5 separate regions of the Homo sapiens genome follow, and regions 1, 3, 4 and 5 are each linked to region 2. Evidence: promoter capture Hi-C in 16 types of primary human blood cells and fetal thymus (Javierre and others, 2016). All regions are on one chromosome and are shown on one strand. The core of a region is centred on a gene start or on the middle of the fragment in contact, and the rest is flanking DNA. Distances in the headings are between cores, read along the strand shown. Region 1 holds the start of RNF13 (ring finger protein 13). Region 2 holds the start of HPS3 (HPS3 biogenesis of lysosomal organelles complex 2 subunit 1). Region 3 overlaps COMMD2 (COMM domain containing 2). Region 4 overlaps ANKUB1 (ankyrin repeat and ubiquitin domain containing 1). Region 5 overlaps ANKUB1 (ankyrin repeat and ubiquitin domain containing 1).

Region 1 (2,700 bases), core at 157-2,656, 680 kb after region 2:
TAAAGGCAGAATTGTGATTTAAGTATTGAATGTCTTTGCAACCAATGAAAAGTTAAGACTACATAGAATACTCATAGGATACACAGAAGAGGAAAGTACCTTTGATAGCTTTTATTTAATTTTTTAAAATTTGATCTTAAATTTCTTGTATTTGAATTTTATTTGAGTAGGTAATATTTGCAAGGTTCAAAATTCAAAAGGCACAAAAGGATACACAATAAGGAAAGAGTCTTTTCCCCATTGCTGTGTCCCACCTACTCAGGGCTCTCCAAGCAATCAAAGTGACAAGTTACATCCAATGGTATTCTACTAATACTCTGTGTGATAGCCTCCTCGCCACCATTTTTAAAAGATGATGTTGAAGGAGTTGAAGCCTGTAAAGGCCTTATTAAGGGTGCCTTATTATTTGAAGCAGAAGTAGTGCCTGATTCTATGTCTCCTGACATTTCTTTCAGGACTCTGTAATATTTGCCTAAGTCACACTGCTTTTGTAAGGTGGCGAGTTGGCAATGATTAATCAATGTGGATGGTACAATCCGGTAATTTAAGTTTCGACTGGTTTAAGATTGAGACAACCAGAAAGGAAGGCTTATCAGAAGGGCGGCAGGGGAGGAGATTTTTGGTTCATCAAAAGGAGGCAAGGGTTTTAAAAGGCTGACCTAGGGCCTGAATCACATGGTTTGACTTTTGCTAAGCCCCGGGGATGGCGCGTGTCAGGCCCAGAGTGCTGATGCCAGCGTGGATCCGAGCCAGGCCTCAGGGGACTGGCGTTCAGACCTCGGGCCGCTCGCATCTCTAACAATTTGAGCCCTACTTTAAGGTGTGGCCACGGTCCCCACCCACTCTGATCTCAGACTGGGCACGGTACGGAAGGCGGGCGGATGAGGCCTCGCCCTCGCCTCTTTAGTAGGTCGGGTGAGTGTAGTGTGCAGGGAAGAGACGCGTCAGCGCCAGGGCCAGGCCCGCCCGGGGGCAGCCCGGCAGCCGAATCTTGGGCTACTCTGTCCCAACAGCCGGAGCAGATCAGACCGACCGGCCCTGCCCGCTCGGTCCCGCGCCCTCCAGACCCTACGGTCTCCGTTTCTAGGGGCACATGGTTAGCGGCAGGCGCCCACAGCCAATCCACTTTGCCAGCCTGCCCCTTCCTCTGCCAAGAGCAGCTTCTTCAGCCGCGCTCCAGTTCCGCAGACGCCTGCCCCACCCTGCTCTTCCCTTCCAGGGAAGACGGATCACGCGGCCAAGAACGAGACTCGCAAACTGGGCATTTCTCCGAGCCGGGCTAGAGCAAGTAGCGAGACTCCGCGTGAGAGTGGGAAAGAGCCTTAACAGGCAACCATGTTGCCCAGTGGGTTTTCTGTGCCTTTGGGTGCGGACCAATGAGGCGCGTGGGGCGGGACTTCCGCTTCGCCTAGGTGTTGTCGTCCCTGCTAGTACTCCGGGCTGTGGGGGTCGGTGCGGATATTCAGTCATGAAATCAGGGTAGGGACTTCTCCCGCAGCGACGCGGCTGGCAAGACTGTTTGTGTTGCGGGGGCCGGACTTCAAGGTAAGACCCTGTCCGGCTTCGCGGCAGCCGGGCAGCTCGTTATCGAGCGGCCCAGAGAACATACCCCGCTTGTTGGCCCTCGAGCTCGGAGTCGGCCCTGCTGCTGAGGTCTTTGCTGCTCCTCTAGAGCTGGGTGAGAAGTCAATTAGGCTTTTTGCAAAAGGAATAAAATAGCCTTGCCCTCGGGGGACCGAGTCTCCCCTGCACTCTCATTCCGCGAGTTTGTGTGTGTCCAAAGTTGAGTTACCGGTTTTGCTTCTCTCATTCCCTTCTTGAGGCTGCAAGAGCCTGCCTGGAAAACATGTTTGGAAGGCTTTTCTTGGTCAAGTACCTGCCGCAACGTCCTCGGGCACATCGCTTGACTTTAGTTGAGGGGGCTGTTTTGTCTCTGAATAGAAGGAGGGCAGTCACTTCCTCTCTTTTACCCCCACCCCCTTTTTCTTTCCCTGGAAGCTCAGATTGCAGGTTTGGGACTTAACCCCTGCTAGGGCCAGATACTACGGTCAGTCAGCAGCTCTGCCTGTATGCTTGACTTGACTTGACTTGCACTTATTAAATAACTTTGTCCCAGAGAGAAAGAGAGAGTGGGCAGACATCGAAGCCAAACAGCAGTATCCCGGAAGCACTCATGCAACTTTGGTGGCGGCCACTCAGTTTTCTCTGCCAGTGTCTGGTAAATTCCTCTATTTTGTCCTAATCTGACAATAGTAAATAGTAAATTTCCAAAACTGTCGTTTCATCATCAGTTTCAGCACCGTGGGCAGCTGCTCGGGTCCTCTCTTGTTGCCCCAAACCTGCCCGGCTATTACTGTTCGTCAGTGATGCAGCAGAAACAGTGAAAACTGATGCATTCCTTTCAACAATGATGTGTTTGTTCTCCAAGGAGAACATCTGCAGTTTTTGATACAATATAAATAAGTAAGGTGGCTGTGCCTCCAAAGAGTTCTTCTGGAGAAACAGATCAATTCAAGATTTAAGGTAGGGCTTTCAAGAGTTTATGCTATTTAAGCACAGTTTTTTAATGGGTGGACATTAGCTCCATCTCGAAGTAACAAAACTGGACAGTGATAGCAATTAAAAAGAACTTTAAACAGGAGGTAAGAAGTGTAGTGCAGTGCTGTAGTGCAGGAAGTGTAGTGCAGTGCTGTAGTGCAG
Region 2 (2,700 bases), core at 72-2,571:
TGGGGTTCCAGGTTTTGAGCAAATCTCACTTCTTTCTCCAAAACAGACATTCTTTTTATGCAGGTGAAATTACACTAAAGTTAATATCAGTCTTCATTAGGAGAAAATTGAATTAGGATAATTAAGTCTTGAAGAAGAAAATTAAGCCAAAAAGAATAATATGGCAGATACTTGTGGAAAGGAATCTTTTTTACTATTGATTTTGATATTTGCTCTTAAGTTTTGTATCTAGAACAAATAACTTGTGGACTATTAGTCTGGTTGTTTTCCATAGGAGCCTTCTGTGATTTTTTGCAGCCCTAGTTCCTGACCTGAGCTACCTCCATGTTTACTTCTCTAACTCACTGAGTTTGACGAACCTGTTGTTTCCCATTACTTAGAGGTACTTTATTCATCTGAAGGGCCTAGGAAAGGGAGGCAAGTTTAACTTCAATCCAATTGCATCTAATTTACAAATTCTGAACTGGAAACTGACTGAAGAAAATGTTGCACTTTCATTTATGTCCCTGTGTGCCTAAATAAAACAGCATCCCTCAATCCATGCTAACACATATATTTTCTAGGTGAACTGGACAAAGTTATACTACTTGTTTTATCTAAATCTGATTTTTTTAGAAAAGGGAAAGTGTTGCGATCGTGAACTCCACGTTGAGATGTCAGGAATAGATAATTTACTGCATAGTTTTAGGAGCACTGGACTGAAAGCCAGGGGATTTCCCTCCTAGTTCTTCTATCCTCTGGGGCTCAAACTAGTCTTTTGTCAAATGCCTACAAGATGAAGTCCATGGATTCTTTCTTTCAACAAATATCTTTTTGCCAAGCACGTTCAAGGCTTTGCTCTTTCCAGCTGAACTATTCTAGAATTTCCATTATTTTAAAGCAACTCTTCAGAGTGTTTAGCCCCGAGTTGCACCCCATTTCAGTTTTTGCAACCCCATCCTCCAGAAGCTCAGGGACTACTGAAGAGACATGAATAACGCTCCTCAAAGTAAGTACAAAATGTTACAAGATAGATGATGAATTGTCAGAACGTACTCAAAAGCCAAAACATACCGCCTGGCCCAAAGCAGTAAAAGACGAAAGGCAGGGACCCAGCGGTCCCCGCACCCACCGGCCACTGAGCATAGAGCAGTGGCAAGCTCGCGCGGCGGAGTGGGAGGCGCAGAGACCGAAAGCACTGCAGCGCCAGAGCGCGGGCTGACCAGGCTGGCGTGACCGCTTTCCCGACGCCTGCCACGCCCCGCGGCGGCCTCTTTAAGTAGCGGAGCCGCGGGCGGGGCCGGCTGGCGTTCACGTGACCCGGCGTCATTGGCTCGCTCGCGGAAGTAGTCCTACATTCGCGGTCAGCGCGGGGTCTCCGGGCGCCCTGCAGGGCGGGCAGGCTGTGCCATCCCGCCGGACGTCGGGATGGTGCAGCTGTACAACCTGCACCCGTTCGGGTCGCAGCAGGTGGTGCCCTGCAAGCTGGAGCCGGACCGGTTCTGTGGCGGGGGGCGTGACGCGCTTTTCGTGGCGGCGGGCTGCAAGGTGGAGGCGTTCGCGGTGGCCGGCCAGGAGCTGTGCCAGCCGCGGTGCGCCTTCTCCACGCTGGGCCGGGTGTTGCGCCTGGCCTACAGCGAGGCTGGTGAGTAATCTAGAGAGCCAGGGGCCGCCTGGGGTCCAGCTTGAGGCCTCCTAGCTAGCGGACCGAACGTCTGGGCTGTAGCTCTAGCTAGGGATGGGACTTCTTGCTTCCCGGAATTTGCCGGATGGTCTCCCTGGGTCTGGCCGCTGATTGCTTGAAGTCGCATTGAGCTATGCGGTTGTCGCGGCAAGCATAGGTATGAGCTTGCTTCTGTCGGGGCGGAGACGCTGACATCTCTTCGTCTTGGTTTTCTGCAGAAAGGCCTCTGGCTGGATTCCACTCATCTCGGATACTTAAGCAAACAACAACAAAAAACTCTTTAGTGCATCAGATTTCAAAGACTTACCAAAAAAACAAGTAGGAATAAGGAGACTAGTACTGTATCCCGGAACCTCCAAGTACTCCCAGCTTTAACAATTATTCCAACTCTTGGCAGTTCTTTCACATCTGTACCTCCATCTACTTCCGGTCGGTTTTTGAAAGCTCACATTATGTGTTGATTTTTAAATGTGTGTAAGTAGAACTCAGACTGCCCCCCTCTCTTCTCTTAAACATCTGTGGCCGGGCGCAGTGGCTCACGCCTGTAATCCCAACACTTTGGGAGGCTGAGGCAGGCGGATCACGATGTTAGGAGTTCGAGACCAGCCTGGTCAATTTATTGAAACCCCGTCTGTACTAAAAATACAAAAATTAGCCGGACGTGGTGGTGGGCGCCTGTAGTCTCAGCTACTTGGGAGGCTGAGGCAGGAGAATCGCTTGAACCGGGGAGGCGGAGATTGCCCCATTGCACTCCAGTTTAGGCGACAGAGTGAGACTCCGTCCCAAAACAAACAAAAACAAACAGTTGTAAGAGCAGCCGTTACTCTTTCACACCAGAAATGTGAAGCAATACCAAGGAAATACTGTGTGGGTGAATCCTATTTTAGAAAAATCCAACATTTAAAACTAGATCCCTTTTAGATTACAGAAGAATTTACCATATAATTCCTTTAATACACTTACCTTCGATTCATACTTTACAAGATGGGTGTAAAGTTCAGTATTTACGTTGCAAAAGCTGGTGGCTATGCTATTAA
Region 3 (2,700 bases), core at 132-2,631, 610 kb after region 2:
TTCTGATTACTTTTTTATTTTTATTTTTACTTTATTATTATTATTATTATTTTTGAGATGGAGTCTCACTCTGTCACCCAGGCTGGAGTGCAGTGGCACAATCTCAGCTCACTGCAACCTCCACCTCCCAGGTTCAAGCGATTCTCCTGCCTCAGCCTCCTGAGTAGCTGGGACTCTGATAGATGCGTGCCACCACACCTGGCTAATTTTTTATATTTTTAGTAGAGATGGGGTTTCACCATGTTAGCCAGGAAGGTCTCAATCTCCTGACCTCATGATTTGCCCACCTCGGCCTCCCAAAGTGCTGGGATAACTGGCATGAGCCACTGCACCCAGCTTAGCTTCTGATTATGACCTCAGTATCTTGGAATAGATACTGAGGAATACTATGTATTTATCATCATGAATTAATAAAAAATTAATTTTGAAAAGTAATTGCTGTATATCATCAATTCATAAGTGATTCAAATGAATTAAAACCTTAAAACTGGTACTACTTGATGTTGCGAACAACTCTCCTACAGTGATTTGTCTTCATCTCTTCCAATGCTTGTTCCAGTTGTTGAACCAAATGGAGCAGGGTGGCTGGGTCTGTCTGCAGAACTTTGGTGTTGTGATCTCCATTTTGATTAAGGTGTAGCTTTATAGTCACTGCTGGTTTAATCTGTTGCCTGAGACTTCTACTTGCAAGCTTGATTTTAAATGAAATAAGAGCACAGTAACTATTTAATAACCATGCTGAATACATAATATTTATAATTATCTTAAACCATACACAAAAATTAAGTTTCAGATGAATTACAGACTTCAAAATGAAAAGTAAACTTTAAAACCTTTGAAAAGAAAATAATGAGAATATATACCAATTTTATGGTATAGAAGATTTCTTAAACATGATATAAAAGGCTCAAACCATAAAGACAAAACTGGTAAAATTTAACTACATTAAAACTCAATTTTCTTCAAAGGATACCTAAAGATGGTGAAAAAACAAGTCATAAACCGAGAGAAGGGATTTTGCAACAGACATATAACCAAAAAAAGATTAGTATCCAGAATGTGTGAACTCCTCTGATTTAATAAGAAAAAAACCTCAAAACCCAAGATAAAAATATACAGAAGGTCTAAATAAGCATTTTACAGAAGACAAATGAATATAGAAAAATATGTTCAACTTTATTAAACATCAGGATAATAGCCAGTAAAACTACATGAAATACCATTTTACAAATATCAGACTAGCAAAAATTAAAAACCTGTTCATACCAAGCATTGCAAGTGGCAGTAATGGGAACTCTCACCCACTCCTGGTAAGCGATGAGAAAATCACTTTGGAAAACAATGTGCATTACCAGCAACTCCACCACTAGGCATATACCTTAACCTCTTATATACATTTATTCATGATAGTATGTTTCCAAGAACCAAAAATTAGAAATACATCAAATATTCATTAACAGAATAGATAAACCAAGAATAATCACACAATGAATTGCTTACTAAATGGCAGAGAAAAGAAATGAACTACAGCAACATGGGTTATCATAGAAGAAATGAAAATGTTGAAAAAAAGCAAGTCACAGAATATGTTCAAGTTTAAAAAATATACAGTTTGGTGACAAAATTTATGTTTAAAAAAACTATAAAGAAAAGATTAGGGGCTAGGCACGGTGGCTCACGCCTGTAATCTCAGCACTTTTGGGGGCTGAGATGGGTGGATCACAAGGTCAGGAGCTTGAGACCAGCCCGGCCAACATAGTGAAACCCTGTCTCTACTAAAAATACAAAAATTAGCTGGCATGGTGGCACGCGCCTGTAGTCCCAGCTACTTGGGAGGCTGAGGCAGGAAAACTGCTTGAACCTGGGAGGCAGAAGTTGTGGTGAGCCAAGATCGTGCCATTGCACTCCAGCCTGGGCAACAGAGTGAGACTCTATCTCAAAAAAAAAAAAAAAAGAAAAAGAAAAAGAAAAAGAAAAGATTCACAGAAAATTCAGGATAACGGTTTCCTTCAGGTGGCTGGGAGATGGTTACAATTGGGTACAGGTTCTTCAAAAGTACTGGTTTTATTTGTTAAGCTTGGTGGTGGGTGTACTGGTATTTGTTTTATCATTATTCTTTAAACTGGGTATCTATAACCTTTCATTTGTATAATATGTTCCAAAATTTAAAAAATAAGTAATACTGACATATTTTTAAAAGAAGAAAACACAAAACTATAAACAATGACCAACTTCAAGGTCCTTTCAATCTTTAGATTCTCCATTAAAAGGAACCAGGACTATCCAAAGCAATAGCTGACTTGAAGTCTAGGAGAGAAACTGTACAAGATGAGCCTGAAACATCTTGTTATAGGAGAAAGCAAAAAAGTTATCAAAAATAGTGGAGTCATGTCAAGAAGACTAGATTCCAACTTGAAGGGATTTTCAAGTGAGTAACAAATCTAAACCTGAGATTTCAGGATTAATTTAATTCTGTAAAATAGAATATTCTGACTAATAACTTCTTCCAAATAATTATAGGTAACCTGGGCTTCCAAAAGAACCCAAGATACTGATCCAAGGCTGAAATTTAATGTCCCCAACTAATTTGCAAACAATAAGTCAATCCCTTTGGGTGAGCTGGTCCCCAAACATAAAATAGGTACTTGCAGGCTAAAGTACCAGTTTAAGATCATCTCTGTAGTACAAATAACTATAGAT
Region 4 (2,700 bases), core at 11-2,510, 650 kb after region 2:
TGACTGAAGTGATTAGGAACAGTTTCAGTCCCTCTGTGGCTGTGCATGAAGCCAGATCAGCAAGCTGAGCTGCCCACTGAGCCTAAAGTGCTTAGAACAATTTTTCATGATAGTTTCTCATAAACACATGCAATACAAATTTAAAGGACATAGGATTGACTCTTTCACTTTTGCCACGCCGTGCTTTCCTATGGTTCCATAAGGGAAGTATCTGTTCAAGCTAATGTAGATAATATTTACGGGCAGGCAGAAATTCCTATGAAAACTGAATAAAAAGATAGTGGGAAAGAGAGAAAAATTATATTTTATGTAATAGCTCTTTTTTATTTCTTTAAAAATTCCTAATTTATATTTAGAATTAAATGCAAATAACAAATTAAATGCAAACAAATGACAAAATAAATCCAAATAGAATAACATGCAAACAAAATAACAGAGTCCCAAGTCACTCTTTAAAAAAAAAATTTTTTTTTAGAGTCTAGGGCTCACTATGTTGCCCAGGCTGGTCTTGAACTTCTGGGCTCAAGCAGTCTCCCACCTCCTGAGTAGCTGGGGAAAGAATTCTCCTCCATTCCCAGCTCTCAAGTCACTCTTAAGTTAACTAGGTGTGTGAGGTTAGATAAGTTAAAAAGAAGCTTCTCAGAATATGAATAATCGTATACTTATATCTATAAAGATAAGCATGTATAACTTAGTATACATATAACTGACTCTGGAACAAGTAATAAGGGAGAACTGCAAAATATCTGGCAATTTTTTTGAGATAGGGTCTCACTCTGTTGCCCAGGCTGAAGTACAGTGGCACTATCAGAGCTCACAGTAACCTCAAACTCCTAGACTCAAGCAATCCTCCCACCTCAGCCTCCCAAGTACAGGCACTCACCACCAAACCCAGCTACATTTTAAATTCTTATTTGTAGAGACAGGGCCTAGCTATGTTGTCCAGGCTGGTCTGGACCCCCTGGCCTCAAGCAATCCATCCACCTCAGCCTCCCAAAGTATTGGGATTACAGGAGTGAGCTTCTGTGCCCAGCTGATCTGACAATCTTTAGATGAAAATAAAAAGTGCAAGGAAGAAAATATTACTAATTATTAATGAAGCCAGGTTCTTAAGTCTCAAGAAAATTAACACCTACTGAGTCTGTTCATTTTTTTTTTAAGCGCTCAGGAACTTTTTATCACATAAATAAATAATAAATGTTGAATGACATCCCAGGCCTTTTTAATCAATAATGTATCTGGATAATAGTTCTCATTGCACTTTTTAACTCTACATACTCACCTTTGTATAAACCTTGTTTTTATGGGAAAACCCATTTTGAGTTCTAGTGAGGCACATTAGTTGTCGATATTTTCTAATTTGGTTGTATGACGAGGGAGTAGGTAGATGCCAATTAATAGCAACTTGCTAATCCACCTTATCCACATAAGAGAAGGCATCTCTACCTCTCTGTCTATATGATACTCCTCCCCAAGTATTCTGAATCACAGAAGGCTGGTCAGTCACAACCAACGAAGTCAGACGCTATTAAATAATAATACCACACACAAATCATTGTTGGACATGTACAAAATTAGACTTTTTCCTTTATAAACAAACTGAGATGCAAACAAACCAACCCAAGAGATATACACAAAGTATCTTACTTTTCAATAAAAACAAATACGTTCTATCTCATGAGAATAATTCCATGCTTACCTTCAAAAAACAAATGCAAACTTACTGTAAATTCATACATGTACTTTAACAATAAGAAAGGAAAAGCTAAACAGAACTGACTGAAAGAAAACAAGTTAATGAAAGTTTTGAATGTACTGCTGTATTTTTTCTCAAGTTCTGCTTTTTTATATTTTGCTGTTTTGGAGTTACAGCACTAAGTAAGCAGAAGCTTGCTGAACTATTCCAGAGTGAACAAAAGGGGAAGTAATATTTGTTTTTGTTGAACCAAATGAATTCCAGTGAGATGTCTCCATAAACTTCTCCTCTTGTGTGGTAGTCATTCTGGAGAGATTATCCATGGAGTCTTGGACACTGAATTGGAACACCTTTCTTCACCAGATTCTTTTCATACCTTTTGTTATGACTCATCTTAGAAAAGAGGGCCATTTTTAAGAAACATGCTTTCATGTGTAAATTTTAAAGAAACATGTTTATACATGTTTTTGTGTATAAAAATGCATAAATGTAAAACCACATATATTGGATTTTGGTGTTTATACATTAACAGTACCTCTCGAAAGCTAAAATGTTTATCATTTTGAATCAAATTTAGACTTGTCAAGATAGTACAAACTTCTCTAACTTATCTGATAAACATCTACTCAATGGTACTACAGTTAACTCAATCTCTCAGCATAAAACAACTTTTCACAACATTCCAGGGATGTCAGGAGGGATTAACTATGTTTTGACCCCAGCACTTGGTTGGTACAAGTCTGGTTATAGAAGGAGGCAGGGAAACCAGAAGGAGTCCTAGGGAGGCTGAGCCCATTTCACGCTCTGAAAAGCACAACCTGCTGGATAGTTGCCCCCTTTGCAGTAGAGCATGGACATGTGACAGGGTGCTCCCAATCAGACCTACCTATCCACCCCAACTTTGAATTACGAGCCAATAAGGCAGAGAAGCAACAGACACAGGAAAGTCTCTAGGCAATGGCATTTCTGAAGTTGCCGGCCTGGCAGCAGGGCTGGCAGCATGT
Region 5 (2,700 bases), core at 133-2,632, 630 kb after region 2:
TATTAAAAGTTATGTGGCATTATAACTGTTACTAGAGATGATAACATTAGAACTGTTATTAGAAATGTTAACATTAGAACTGGACATTCTGTTTGATCAGGTCTTTGTCCAAACTGAAGTTGTCATGACTTTTCAAAGCACAGTTTCTAGAGAGTTTTCACACGCTGTCAGACCTCCTCGGGTAGTCAAGTTAGAAATGCTCTTTTTGGCCAGGACTCTTGCTATTTCTAACTGCTGAAGCCATCGTTTCTCTTTAAAGGCACTGCAAGAAAACAAGATATAATTTGTAAGGAGGTCTGATCTTGTCTGCATACATAGCTGAAAAAGGATGGAAATCTTCAGGTTGATTTTGTAGCTAGGGCTAGTTTGTCTTGTCACATAGGTAGATGTGAAATAGAAACAGTAATCTTTCTAAAACAAGTTCCCTGTGATGCAGTGGGAATGATATTTTCTCAAGGCAATACTAAAAACTTAGAATCCACAACTAGAAACAGAAAGCCACTCAATATCATGTAGAATTCTCTGGGTTGAAACTTTTTCTCTCTCCTCTCTAGATATTCCTATACATCACATATTCCCTGGCCTCCTCTTTTCTCCACTTTCTACCCCTACGAACACACATGAGGATTTTTTAATTGAAAAGATATTAGGTATTTTGATAGTCTTTAACTAAAATGCAAAGGAACTTAATGTTTTATGATAGTTATTCTCTGGCTATATACTAATAAAGACTTGCAAATTTGAATACGATTACTCTTTGTAGGATGCAAATGTGATTTAATACAGAGGTGTTTTACATCACCTTAAATGTTGGGGTCCTCCAAGATTCTATCTTTGGTCCTCCTCTCTTTCTACACCCTCATCCTAGGAGTCCTCATTTACTCACTGTTTAAATTCTTTTATCCATGACTCCTTGACCTTTCTCAAAAGTGGCATATCTCCAATTAACAAATAAAAATATTCATCCCATAGACACTTCTAATTTAACATATCTTTATCTTCTTCCTAAACTTGTCCCACTTCTGTTTCCTTGTTCTAACACTTCGATTTTGCTATCCTCACCATCTCCAAAGCTAGAAACGAAACTAAATTCCTTCTTTCTCTATTTCCACACCCAGTCAGTGACCAAATTTTGTGGATTATTCCCCAGAAATATCTCTTGTATTTGGCCTTTTCTCTTTTCCCTAACTACTGTTGTTCTAGTCCAGGTCTTTATTTTCTCTTATTTCTCTTTTTGCAGCTTCCTACCTTTACTATAGTCTTTCCACATCTTTCCAACGAGTCTTCCATACATCTCTATCAGATTTGTCTTCAAAAACAAACAAAAACTGATTATGGAACTTACTTCATGAAAAAGAACTTCTATGAGCTTCCCACCTACCTCCTACCCCATGGAAGGGGGAATAAGAAGCAAACTCTTCACTTGGTCACACAAGATGCTTCTTAGTGTAGATGCAGTCTACTTTGCCAGTCTTATCTCCAGCCAGTTCTTCCTTATTGCCTAGGATGACTTTTGCAAATCCACGTACCTTCCTGAAAATTCAATTTCTTGCTTGCTCTTTCACAAAAGTGCCTTTGACCATGTTACTAGCTCTGCCTGGATCCTTTACCTCACCTCTGCCCATGTTGTCTGGCAAAGTCTGGTATTTCTAAAAGGCTTTCACTCAATCTATTAGGAGTAACCCTGTATAAAAGTACCATAGTGTTTCCAACATTTGAACCAGGTCTATGTCTGCCTGATTCAACTTCTTTGTTCTAGATTAACTTCTTGCTTTACCTCAATGGCTGTGTCTTTCTGTGCCCTCTAAACTGAGTTAACCCATCCATGCAGCCCATAAAATTAGGTGTTAAGTCTTAAAGAAATCATTCAGGCACTTTCAGCCTTTCCCTGTATCCCACCAGACTTAGTTTGAAGTCCTCTCCTGTTCTGATGCATATCCTTGCTCTTCCTAGGCTCAGAGCCTATCCTGATTCTCTCCCTGGCATTTGAAACCTGGCTTTTCTGCATTCATTCAAAAACTGTTTACCTTAAGAAAAAGATGCGTATTGAGCACTTACTCTATGGCAAGCACTATTCTATGTGCTGGAGATACAAAAGGTGATTAAAACATACAAGATATGCCTTTTTAAATAAAGAATAAAAACAAAGAGCTGTACTTGTATCCAGAGTACAAGAGCCCAGCAAAGCTCATAACATTTGAGATTATCATCTATTCTCAGTCCACTCAAACTCTCAGCCTTCTGGATCAATCCCTTACATTTGAATCTTTACTTAACTGGACTCCCAGGTCACATAAACCTCTCTGGAATTGGACAATGAGCAATAAGGAAAGCTATTTTCTAGACACACCTTACAGATATTCTTTGACCTGTGTAAAGCCTACTGACGTCTAGGCTGAGGAATGAGACTCTATGTGACCTTCTGGCCTCAGTGACTGTCTACACCAGCCACATTTACTCACCAACCCAAACCCACATTAGCGCTTGATCTGTGTTAACTGCATAATGCCATCTTGGAGTCAACCCTGAGAGGTTTAGTTTTATGAATCTAAAGGTAGGAGTTCCTGAATGACATGTGGTCCAACAAGTACTTTCACATGATGCCAGATGACTTGTCTGCTTTGGGAGACTCCCCTTTCTGTAAAACAGGAACATCTGATGGTCACTTTACCCACCTGATCCCTGGGTCAGCATCATGAA

Evidence for each region. Contacts are between HindIII fragments. The CHiCAGO score rates a contact against its expected background, and 5 or more counts as called.
Region 1: the fragment with the promoter of RNF13 here is called in contact with the fragment with the promoter of HPS3 in region 2 in 7 of 17 cell types (naive CD8 T cells, naive CD4 T cells, non-activated CD4 T cells and 4 more); the score reaches 14.0 in naive CD8 T cells.
Region 3: a fragment that was not itself captured here is called in contact with the fragment with the promoter of HPS3 in region 2 in 4 of 17 cell types (non-activated CD4 T cells, total CD4 T cells, total B cells and 1 more); the score reaches 6.3 in non-activated CD4 T cells.
Region 4: a contact is called between a fragment that was not itself captured here and the fragment with the promoter of HPS3 in region 2, in 3 of 17 cell types (naive CD8 T cells, total B cells and total CD4 T cells). The highest score is 5.7, in naive CD8 T cells.
Region 5: a contact is called between a fragment that was not itself captured here and the fragment with the promoter of HPS3 in region 2, in 1 of 17 cell types (total CD4 T cells). The highest score is 5.7, in total CD4 T cells.

The regions. Positions count from the first base shown.
Region 1 is chr3:149,811,809-149,814,508 of GRCh38, forward strand. RNF13 (ring finger protein 13) reads left to right here and starts at 1,407. Exons shown (of 10, transcript NM_183381.3): 1 at 1,407-1,545. RefSeq lists enhancers at 764-1,275, 1,141-1,250 and a silencer at 781-930. The HindIII fragment of the contact is 6,716 bases long and covers 1-2,700 here.
Region 2 is chr3:149,128,317-149,131,016 of GRCh38, forward strand. It overlaps HPS3 (HPS3 biogenesis of lysosomal organelles complex 2 subunit 1), which reads left to right and starts at 1,322. Exons shown (of 17, transcript NM_032383.5): 1 at 1,322-1,624. The coding sequence starts at 1,408. RefSeq lists enhancers at 1,323-1,582, 1,364-1,863. The HindIII fragment of the contact is 10,979 bases long and covers 1-2,700 here.
Region 3 is chr3:149,741,028-149,743,727 of GRCh38, forward strand. COMMD2 (COMM domain containing 2) reads right to left here. Exons shown (of 5, transcript NM_016094.4): 5 at 1-691. The coding sequence ends at 494. Among named protein-coding and RNA genes, the nearest start is that of COMMD2, 10 kb to the right of the region's middle. The HindIII fragment of the contact is 1,385 bases long and covers 690-2,074 here.
Region 4 is chr3:149,781,805-149,784,504 of GRCh38, forward strand. The region is part of intron 2 of ANKUB1 (ankyrin repeat and ubiquitin domain containing 1); the gene reads right to left. Among named protein-coding and RNA genes, the nearest start is that of ANKUB1, 9.4 kb to the right of the region's middle. The HindIII fragment of the contact is 1,254 bases long and covers 634-1,887 here.
Region 5 is chr3:149,761,352-149,764,051 of GRCh38, forward strand. ANKUB1 (ankyrin repeat and ubiquitin domain containing 1) reads right to left here. Exons shown (of 6, transcript NM_001144960.3): 6 at 1-262. The coding sequence ends at 133. Among named protein-coding and RNA genes, the nearest start is that of COMMD2, 10 kb to the left of the region's middle. The HindIII fragment of the contact is 8,772 bases long and covers 1-2,700 here.